Linked DNA regions of Homo sapiens: region 1 is linked to region 2. The links are contacts of gene promoters, found by promoter capture Hi-C in blood cells and fetal thymus (Javierre and others, 2016). All regions are on one chromosome and are shown on one strand. The core of a region is centred on a gene start or on the middle of the fragment in contact, and the rest is flanking DNA. Distances in the headings are between cores, read along the strand shown. Region 1 overlaps LRRC27 (leucine rich repeat containing 27). Region 2 holds the start of TUBGCP2 (tubulin gamma complex component 2).

Region 1 (4,533 bases), core at 409-2,908, 970 kb before region 2:
CCCCAGATCCTCATAGGCTGAGTACTATGGGGGGGGTCACAGTCTTCCTGGATGTCGTCTATTGGTTGTTGGGTAGGGGCTGTACGGTGCAGGTTCCTCCCCTGGTTCCTCATAGGCAGAGTACTATAGGGTCGCAGTCTTCCTGGACGTTCCCTATTGGTTGTTGGGCAGGGGCTGTAGGTATTTTCTTTAGGGTTGTCCTGCTTTATTTTGTCGTGGCCCACAATGCATTGCAATCCCAGTCAGCTCAGGGGCTCTTCAAGTATTTGATTTATGACCTAAGTAGCTGGGCAGGCTGATAAGAACGGACAAAACGAGCTATTTTGCGGGCTAGTAAACTTTCATCTTAGACTAATCTTCTTTGGTTTGGGTGAGGGCAACTAAGGGGTGGGGAATGGCCAACAAGCAGGCATCGGCTATCCAAGTAGGGGCCTAGTACATCCTGTTTTTCTGTAGTTTGCTGACCTAAGCCAATTCAAGGCACTTTGTCTTGGAAATGGACCACTGTATATATTATTTCCTTCAACCATAACCAGCTCCAAGTCACAGGTGGTGCCTGCATTTCCAGAGGTGCTGGGGAGGAAGAAGAGTGTTATCTTTCTGAGATTCCTTTTACTGGCATTGAGAACGACATGGTTTCAAAGCTGAGCACTGGAATCAGCTTGCCCTGGGGGGGGAAGAACAGGACCAAGAAGTGTAAAACCACTCCTGCAGAGGCCCGAGAAAGGCAGCACGTGGAGGCATGCACATGCCTGTATGTGGGGGGTGCACACCCATATACGTGGGGGCACACACTGTGACCTGTGATTGCCAGGATGCTTTCTGGAGACCGAGCCAGCTGCCAGCAAGCAGTGACTCGGGCAATTTCCTAACAGAGATAAGATAGTGTTTCCAGTGCCTTTCTGAAGAGTGTGATTTTTCCAGTCAGTGTTTCTCCAGTTGGAATCTGTCAGTGATTTGGATCAGGGACACGGTGTTGAGGGCGGAATGGGGAGGCATGTGGTGCTCTGTGCAATGTGCAGTGTGTGTTTCATAGAGAAGGCAACGTAATCACAACAGCCAATCCACGCACTGTTCTTTAGTGCTTGCCCACATTGCCCCGTCTCACAGATGAGGACACTGGAGCACAGAGAGGTTCAGGAACTTGCTCAAGGTCACACAGCCAATAGATTTTGAAACCTAGATGTGGATCCAGGCAGTCTGGCTTTGAGATCATTGTTCCGAACATCTGTTTCTACTCCCTCAGGAAATACAGATATGGATATAAATACATATAATAATGTGAGTATAAACAACTAGCAGCATTAATGACAGTATTGTAAAAATTAGCTATGATCCTTCCACACTGTGACTGTAAAATTGTGTGAATGTTATATGCATTTTACACAGCTAAAATCAGCGTGTATACGTTCATCTTCCACCTTCCCTTATTTGTCACGACTTTACAACGCCACCGAGTTGATGTGTCAATCTGCTTCTGAAATGCTGCTCGCTGAGGCTTTGTTTGCTGCTGATCGTAGAGAACACCACGGCAGACATCTCTGTCCCTGTCTTTTAGTTTCATTTTAATGATTGAGTTGGGCTGAGTCCCCCAGACCAGACATGGCTCTGGCTATTTGCTCAGTAAGCAGGCGATTTCGGGGGCTGCCGAGGGCCAGGTGCTGCGGCAGGCACTGGAGAAACGGCCGAGACACTGAGTGTGGGGCCCCGGAATTCAGACCATGTCAAAGGCTTTGGGATAGAAACAGTGGTGTGCTGGGTCAGCAGCAGAGTGCCGGCTCTTCAGGAAGTCAGTTCCGGCTCCAAAGGCCGCCGGAAGGAGTCCTGGTTCTTTTCTTTCTGATTCTTTTGTCTACTGTTTACATCTTTTAAGGGTAAGAGATTGGGTTTTTGTTTTTTAACTTAGTATATACGGTTCTGGTTGTTAGTAGTTCTTTTGGAAATAGATTTTGGATATATCATGTTTTACAAATTAGTTGGTTAACAAAACATTCTCTGATTCTCTTTTCCATGGAAGCAATTGCATCTGCAAAGGAATGCCCTGTGTGTGATTCCTCAAGATTTCTTTCAGTTGCTTCCGAACCTGACTTGGCTGGACCTCCGGTACAATAGAATTAAAGCGCTTCCTTCTGGGATTGGAGCTCACCAGTAAGTTGTTTATGTTTCCAGATTTTAAAAATCATCTTTTCAGTGCACGAGTGCCTGTTCTTTCGCTCCTTGTCCTTTACTCTTGATTAAATTTTTACCTCGGAATAGAAACATTTAATAGTATTTTTAAAGCCAGCTAAGAGGTTGCGACGGCTGAATGTACCCAACACAGAACTATAACTTGGGATATTTGGTGCCACAGAGAATGCTGTAGCCACAGTGTCTTTTTGCTGGGCAGCCAGTGTGATTTTTGTCACAGCCGATTCCAGCTCTGACTCTCCTTGTGTGAAGCTGTCTGAAAATCAGAAATACCTCTGATGAGTTAAACCAGCAACTTTGGCCAGGCGCGGTGGCTCACGCGTGTAATCCCAGAACTTTGGGAGGCCGAGGTGGGCAGATCACCTGAGGTCAGGAGTTTGAGACCAGCCTGGCCAACATGGCAAAACCCTATCTCTAATAAAAATACAAAAATTTGCCAGGCGTGGTGGTGGGTGCCTGTAATCCCAGCTCCTCAGGAGGTTGAGGCAGGAGAATTGCTTGACCCCAGGAGGCAGAGGTTGCAGTGAGCTGAGATCACACCACTGCACTCCAGTCTGGGTGACAGAGTAAGAGTCCGTCTCAAAAAAAATAAATAAAAAATAAACCAGCTCCTTTGCTCCTGAGGGCTCCTGGGTAACCCACATTGGTTCTTGGCAAATAGTGAGAAATTCTTCTCACTTTGGAAAACTGGGAGCACCCAACCAAGCTCCAGGTGTCCTGTCCATTTCCACCACTTCCCTTCCAGGAGTTTCCTTGCATTCCCACTTGTGGGGTGTAATCCTGCCCATGGTGGAAACGTCACACCTCCTTTCCCCTCCTCAGCCTGGCCCTTCCCCAGCAGCCAGGACTCTACTCTCACTATGGAGACGTCCTCCTTTCCTGAGCTCTCTGCTTCTGTGCCCACATCCCCGGCGCCATGGCTTTTTCACCTTCTGAAGCCATGATTGCCCTTAACTCTTTTTCTTTTCTTTCTTTCTTTTTTTTTTTTTTTTTGAGACGGAATCTTGCTCTGTCTCCCAGGCTGGAGTGCAGTGGCGTGATCTCGGCTCACTGCAACCTCTACCTCCTGGTTTCAAGCGATCCTCTTGCCTCAGCCTCCCAAGGAACTGGAATTACAGGTGCCCGCCACCATGCCCGGCTAATTTTTGCATTTTTAGTAGAAACGGGGTTTTGCCATGTTGGACAGGCTGGTCTCAAAGTCCTGACCTCAAGTGATCTGCCTGCCTTGGCCTCCCAAAGTGCTGGGATGACAGGCATGAGCCCCCGCGCCCGGCTACCTGAACCTCTTTTGACAAGTGCTGATATGAAGGCCCCATATCAGCTGGGGCCACGGCAGCAGCCCATGCAGGAGGGGCAGCCTGGGCGTGGCTGGCCACGGCAGGGCCTGGGTGGGACTTCAGAGCTGGTGGGATGCGGGTGGGTGTGGGGCCACAAGAAGAAGAGGGGTATCCAGGGTGCCCCCAGTTCCTACGTGAGGAATGGTGTCTCCCAAGAGCCATGGTGGCCTCCGTGGGACAGTAGAATAGAGGCTTGTAGGAGGCCCTTCACTTGCCTTGAACTCACTGGTTTTAAAAATGTTTTATAAGAAGTCAGTGTATTTTGCCACAGGTAATGGGAGGGAACCATGCATCACTCACCCTTCAGGCTCTGCGAGGAAGCTGCTTATCTAATGATAGGTGGTGTCCGGAGCAGGTGGAAACACACCCGGTGCATCTCCATGGGGCTCCTAGGGACTCTGGGGTCTGCAGGGCGGACCACAGACGGACCTGGAGGAGAAGAGTGTTCCGGGGCTCAGCTGGTACATCTGCCGAGCCCGGCCAGCCGCTTGTGTTTTGGGAGCTGCATGGGAGCCAGGTGCTCTCTGGGCAGTTGTCCACCCTGTCCTCACGGCCTCGGGAGGCTTCCAAGCCTGAGGCTGAGAGTGCTTTGGGAAGGATTTCTTCTTCACACGATCATCATCTTCTGGGTTTAGAATCACTGGGTGCTCTTTTGTCCACAAATTGTTTTAGCCTTACACAGTTCTGGAGAGTAAGTGCTACTCAGAGGATGTAAATGAACTAAGACCTGTTCCCATAACTACTCGTGTTTTCCCTAAAATAAGTGTACAGTCCTCAAAATTTGAAATTCTTTGATTTTGCTAGTCAAAGCTGGCTGCCTATGTTTTTGGAGGTATACTTTTATTTGTGATTTGTAACCCATGATAACATTCAAATTAGATCAACTACAGAGCTGAGACATATTACTCGGAAATACAAAGTGATTGTGGGCTTATTAAAGCCTTAAACCTCTCAAAACATAATTAAAACAGTGACGGTGTTAGCATGCCACCTTCTCAGTGTCCTGGAT
Region 2 (4,606 bases), core at 848-3,347:
GAGACTCTGTCTCAAAAAATAATAATAAAAAAAATAAAAACTACCTTCAGGAAACTTCGTATCTCTTCTAGAAATAGAAGCACAGATGCCCGCACGTCATGAGTGTTCATCCCATGAGGAGCCTGCTGCTCTCCCTGAATGTGGGGACCGGGCCTCCAAGAGGGCAGCCCGTACTCGCACAGAGTCCCTCCCCCCAGAAGACCTTTGGAAAAGTCCTAGGGCAACTCTGGGGTGTCACGGTCATGGAAGGGTGCTCTCGCTACTTAGAGGGCAAGGGCGGGGGATGCTAATCATCAACAGAGCTGTCCCGCCAGAAATGCACAGCGTCCCACTGAAAACACAGCTCTGAGGAACATCTAGCCGTGGCTGCTTCTTGGAGGAACGTCTAGCCATGGCCGCTGACTTGGCCTTCTTGATGCTCCTGAATTCTTACTATTAATCACACAAACTGACAGGCCCAGCAACTGTGACTGGGAGGGACTGACGTCCTCCTCACAGAGGCTGTGAGCTACCGCAGGGACGCGTGCTGAGGGAAGCAATGCACGCATGTCACACTCCACCACGGACAAGCGGGGCACACACTCCTAGTGAGCACACACTCCAAGTGATTAAAACACAGAGGGACGTGAAAAAGAGTCTCTGTTGAGAGCTCAAAGCTAACTGTACAAATTGGTTTGAAAAATGTTATTTTACAACTTGTGGAAAATGTCAAGAGCCCAAAGGCTTTTACAGAGACAGAAAGTACAGTCATGCATCACTCAACATTCTGAGAAATGCCTGGCCAACATGGTGAAAACCAGTCTCTACCAAAAATACAAAAATTGGCCAAGCCTGGTGGCGCACACTTGTAATCCCAGCTACTTGGGAAGCTGAGGCACGAGAATCGCTTGAACCCAGCAGGCAGAGGTTGCAGTGAGCCCAGATCGCGCCACTGCACTCCAGCCTGAGCGACAGAGAGAGACACTATCTCCAAAAGAAAAAAAGAGAAACGTATGGTTACATGATTTCCTTCTGTGCGATCATCAGAGTCACTCGCAGACCTGGATGGTGTACGGCCTACAATGCACCTAAACCACCTAGAGGAGCCTCTTGCTCGTGGGCTACAAACCTGCCCAGCAGGTGGCGGTGCTGAACACTAGACAACTGTAACACAGAGATATTTGTGTATCTAAACATGGAAAAAGTACAGGGGCAGGCATGGTGGCTCACGCCTGCAGTTACAGCTCTTTGGAACGCTGAGGCAGCAGGACCACTTGAGCCCAAGAATTTGAGGCCGCAGCGATCTATCAGCTATGATCGCACCATTGCACTCCAGCCTGGGTGACAGACGAGAAAGCTAAAGCCTCTATCCGCCACTGGGCCCATTCTCTGCAGTAGATCTGAAGCGTCCACTGCTTCCCGCGTGTGTTGTCATTCACCATTTTAATTAGGTGACTCTTTACTCTGACGTCTGTCTCTCCTACAAGGCTGCCGCGCCCTCCTGTGATGCCTTCCCCCACACGCCCTGAGCACCTAGCACAGGTCCTGTGTTTCACGGGAGCTGCGGGGACTGGAGAGGTCGACAGGACCCCGACAAACCAGGAAAGGGCCTTTGAACTAAAGTAACGGGAAGTCACCCAAGGGCTTTAAATTAAAAACGGTTACAATAAAACTGGAGTCACTTTGGCTCCAGTTCGCGACTGGTTTAGAGGGAACAAGATCCAGGGACTGCAGCGGGAGACGACAGGCGGGGCAAGGCGGACGGGAGAGGGCGTGCGAGAGGGGGACCTGCGACCCGGCTTCCCAGGGCTGGGAGGGGACACCCGGGACGACCCGGAGGCCCGCTCCGCCCCGCCCCGGCTGAGTGTCGGGCCGCGGGGCAAGACGCTGGCCTGGCCGGTGCAGGCCCGAAGGGCTTCGGCCCCAGAGTTCGGGGACCGCTGCACAGCCAGAGGGAGCGCGCGGGAAGAGCCGCGTCCCGCCAGCCCCGTCGCCTCGTGGGCCCCCCCGGGCCTGGCAGTCCCCCAACCCCCTCATCACGCCCGCGCCCGCGTTCGGCCAGGACTCACCGCAGTCCCGGAGCCACAGCCCCCGCGCAGCCCCCGACGGCGGCGGAAGTGAGCGTGACGTCACGTCCGGCTCGGCTCGCGGACGGTGGCCGACAGGCTGCGCCCGCCCGCGCCCGGGGTGATGCAGTTGCCCCCCGCGCTGTGCGCCCGCCTCGCTGCGGGGCCCGGGGCGGCGGAGCCGCTGCCTGTAGAGCGGGATCCCGCGGCTGGGGCCGCGCCCTTTCGCTTCGTTGCGCGCCCCGTGCGCTTCCCGCGGGAGCACCAGTTCTTCGAGGTGCGTGAGCAAAAGAGGGAAAAAGTAGTTGTAGGATCCAGTGGGGCCTACGGCGGCGAGGCGGGGCCGGAGCCTGGAGTGGGAGGGGCCTACGACTGCGGGGCGGGGCCGGAGCCTGGGACAGGCGGGACCTGAGGTGGTGGGGCGGGGCCGGAACGTGGAGTGGGCGGGGCCTGAGGCTGTGGGGCGGGACCGGAGCGCGGGATGACTGGGGCCACGGGTGTGGGCGAGGCCTGACGCGGTGGGCGTGCCGCGAGTCACCTGGCCCCGCCCACGGCGCACTTTTCCTGCAGGATGGGGACGTGCAGCGCCACCTCTACCTCCAGGACGTGATCATGCAGGTGGCCGACGTGCCTGAGAAGCCCAGGTAAGCGAATGGGCAGTGCCTAGCCAGTGCTACTCCTGCGCCGCCTCCCTGACCGGTGCCTGGTCCCTGGGGCTGTGCTGCCGCTCTTCCATGTGCGGCCGCCCCACCGAGGCGCTGTGCCTGTCCAGCTTTGGCGTGGCCGACTCTTCCACCACCTAGCCTGTTTGTGAAACTTAATTCATAAAAAGAGGGTTTGGGATTGCAAAAGATGCATAGGGGCTTTATTGGACGTCTCAAAGGGAAACTGTGCAGAAAGTCCAGCTTGGTTCCTCGCACCGGAGGAAGGGCTCCTGAAGCACGTCTCCTTGGCAGGGTGCCCGCGTTTGCCTGCCAGGTGGCCGGCTGCTGCCAGGTGTTCGATGCCCTGGACGACTACGAGCACCACTACCACACGCTGCACGGAAATGTTTGCTCCTTTTGCAAGCGGGCCTTCCCTTCCGGACACCTGCTGGACGCCCACATCCTGGAGTGGCACGATTCGCTCTTCCAGATCCTGTCTGAGAGGCAGGACATGGTGGGTGACAACTGCACAGCCGCCGAGGCCACCCCCCATTGGTGATGGGCTCAGAGTGCTGCCCCCAGCTCTCGGGTGCTCGGGCAAGGCCGGGGACACCTTTCCGCCCTTGGCAGCTCTGCTACGGGGGCATGGCGGTGGGGGAGGGCCAGGGGTCAGAGGGAGGTGACACGGTCTCCATTTCAGTATCAGTGCTTGGTAGAAGGCTGCACAGAGAAGTTCAAGACCAGCAGAGACCGGAAGGATCACATGGTGAGGATGCACCTGTACCCCGCGGACTTCCGGTTTGATAAGCCAAAGAAAAGCAGAAGGTAGGGAGCCGCCAGGCTCAGCACGTGTCTGCTTTTGATTTTAGGAAAAGGTTTCCAACTAGCCGGAATGCATAGACGGTCAGACTTATTAAGCACTTGTGTGTCACCTAATGGGGTGTTCACCTGCAGGTACCTGAAGCCCTGGCAACACAGCTACAGGTGGTTGTGCCAGCGGCCACCCTGCCGAAGGGAGGCTGGAGGGGAGCCCCTGGCTGCCCAGCTCTGTGCCGGTGGAGGCAGCAGAGGGGGTGTGGGAATGAGCGGGCGCAGCGCCTCCGCACTCACACCCCTCTGGGCCATGCCTGTACCTCCTGCAGCAGTCGGCCGTGGTCATCCGCACTCACACCCCTCGGGGCCGTGTCTGTACCTCCTGCAGCCGTCGGCCGTGCTCACACATCATGCAGCCCTGGCTTTCCTTTTGTCCTGGTTGGTTGTGCGCATATGAACTTGATGACAAAGCTGTTGATTAACATGTTCCTGCCTAGAGTGCACTCTGGGAAATACTTCCAGGAACAATCTTTTTTTTTTTTTGAGACAGGGTCTTGCTCTGACACCCAGGCTGGAGTGTAGTGGTGTGATGTAGGTTCACTGCAACCTCCACTTCTCAGGCTCAAGCGATTCTCCCACTTCAGCCTCCTAAAGTGCTAGGACTACCAACACGCATCGCCGCACTCGGCAAAATTTTCTATTTTTTGTAGAGACAGGGTCTTGCTATGTTGCCCAGTCTGGTCGTGAACTCCTGGGCTCAAGCCGTCCATCTGCCTCAGCCTCCCAAAGTGCTGAGATTGTAGGTATGAGCTACCATGTCCAGCCGGAACAATTTTTAAATTGTGTTATATTTCTTCTTTTTTTAACTGATGAGGTGAACTTTCATAATCATCTACAATTTTATTGATCAGAGTTTTTCAGACTCTACATTTTCTCAAGTAGTAATTTGCTCTTTAAAATAAAAGAACTGGGAGAACCCACTGCAATGTGGGAGGCTTTACAAAGACTTACGTGTAAAGTAATTGTCTCCTTTCCGAGGGATCATTTTAAGGAGAAAAACCGTGCAATGCTGGATTAAGACATTCGTATTATGGAAGAGACTAG

The links. Contacts are between HindIII fragments. The CHiCAGO score rates a contact against its expected background, and 5 or more counts as called.
Region 1: a contact is called between a fragment that was not itself captured here and the fragment with the promoter of TUBGCP2 in region 2, in 1 of 17 cell types (monocytes). The highest score is 6.1, in monocytes.

Annotation. Positions count from the first base shown.
Region 1 is chr10:132,335,548-132,340,080 of GRCh38, forward strand. It overlaps LRRC27 (leucine rich repeat containing 27), which reads left to right. Exons shown (of 11, transcript NM_030626.3): 3 at 2,018-2,148. Among named protein-coding and RNA genes, the nearest start is that of LRRC27, 5.6 kb to the left of the region's middle. RefSeq lists an enhancer at 177-236 and a silencer at 3,890-4,044. The HindIII fragment of the contact is 6,013 bases long and covers 1-4,533 here.
Region 2 is chr10:133,306,775-133,311,380 of GRCh38, forward strand. It overlaps TUBGCP2 (tubulin gamma complex component 2), which reads right to left and starts at 2,098. Exons shown (of 18, transcript NM_006659.4): 1 at 2,049-2,098. ZNF511-PRAP1 (ZNF511-PRAP1 readthrough) reads left to right here and starts at 2,140. Exons shown (of 9, transcript NM_001396060.1): 1 at 2,140-2,322; 2 at 2,616-2,689; 3 at 3,002-3,203; 4 at 3,390-3,514. The coding sequence starts at 2,170. ZNF511 (zinc finger protein 511) reads left to right here and starts at 2,140. Exons shown (of 6, transcript NM_145806.4): 1 at 2,140-2,322; 2 at 2,616-2,689; 3 at 3,002-3,203; 4 at 3,390-3,514. The coding sequence starts at 2,170. RefSeq lists enhancers at 1,275-1,504, 2,228-2,923, 2,331-2,625 and a silencer at 1,735-2,584. The HindIII fragment of the contact is 14,798 bases long and covers 1-4,606 here.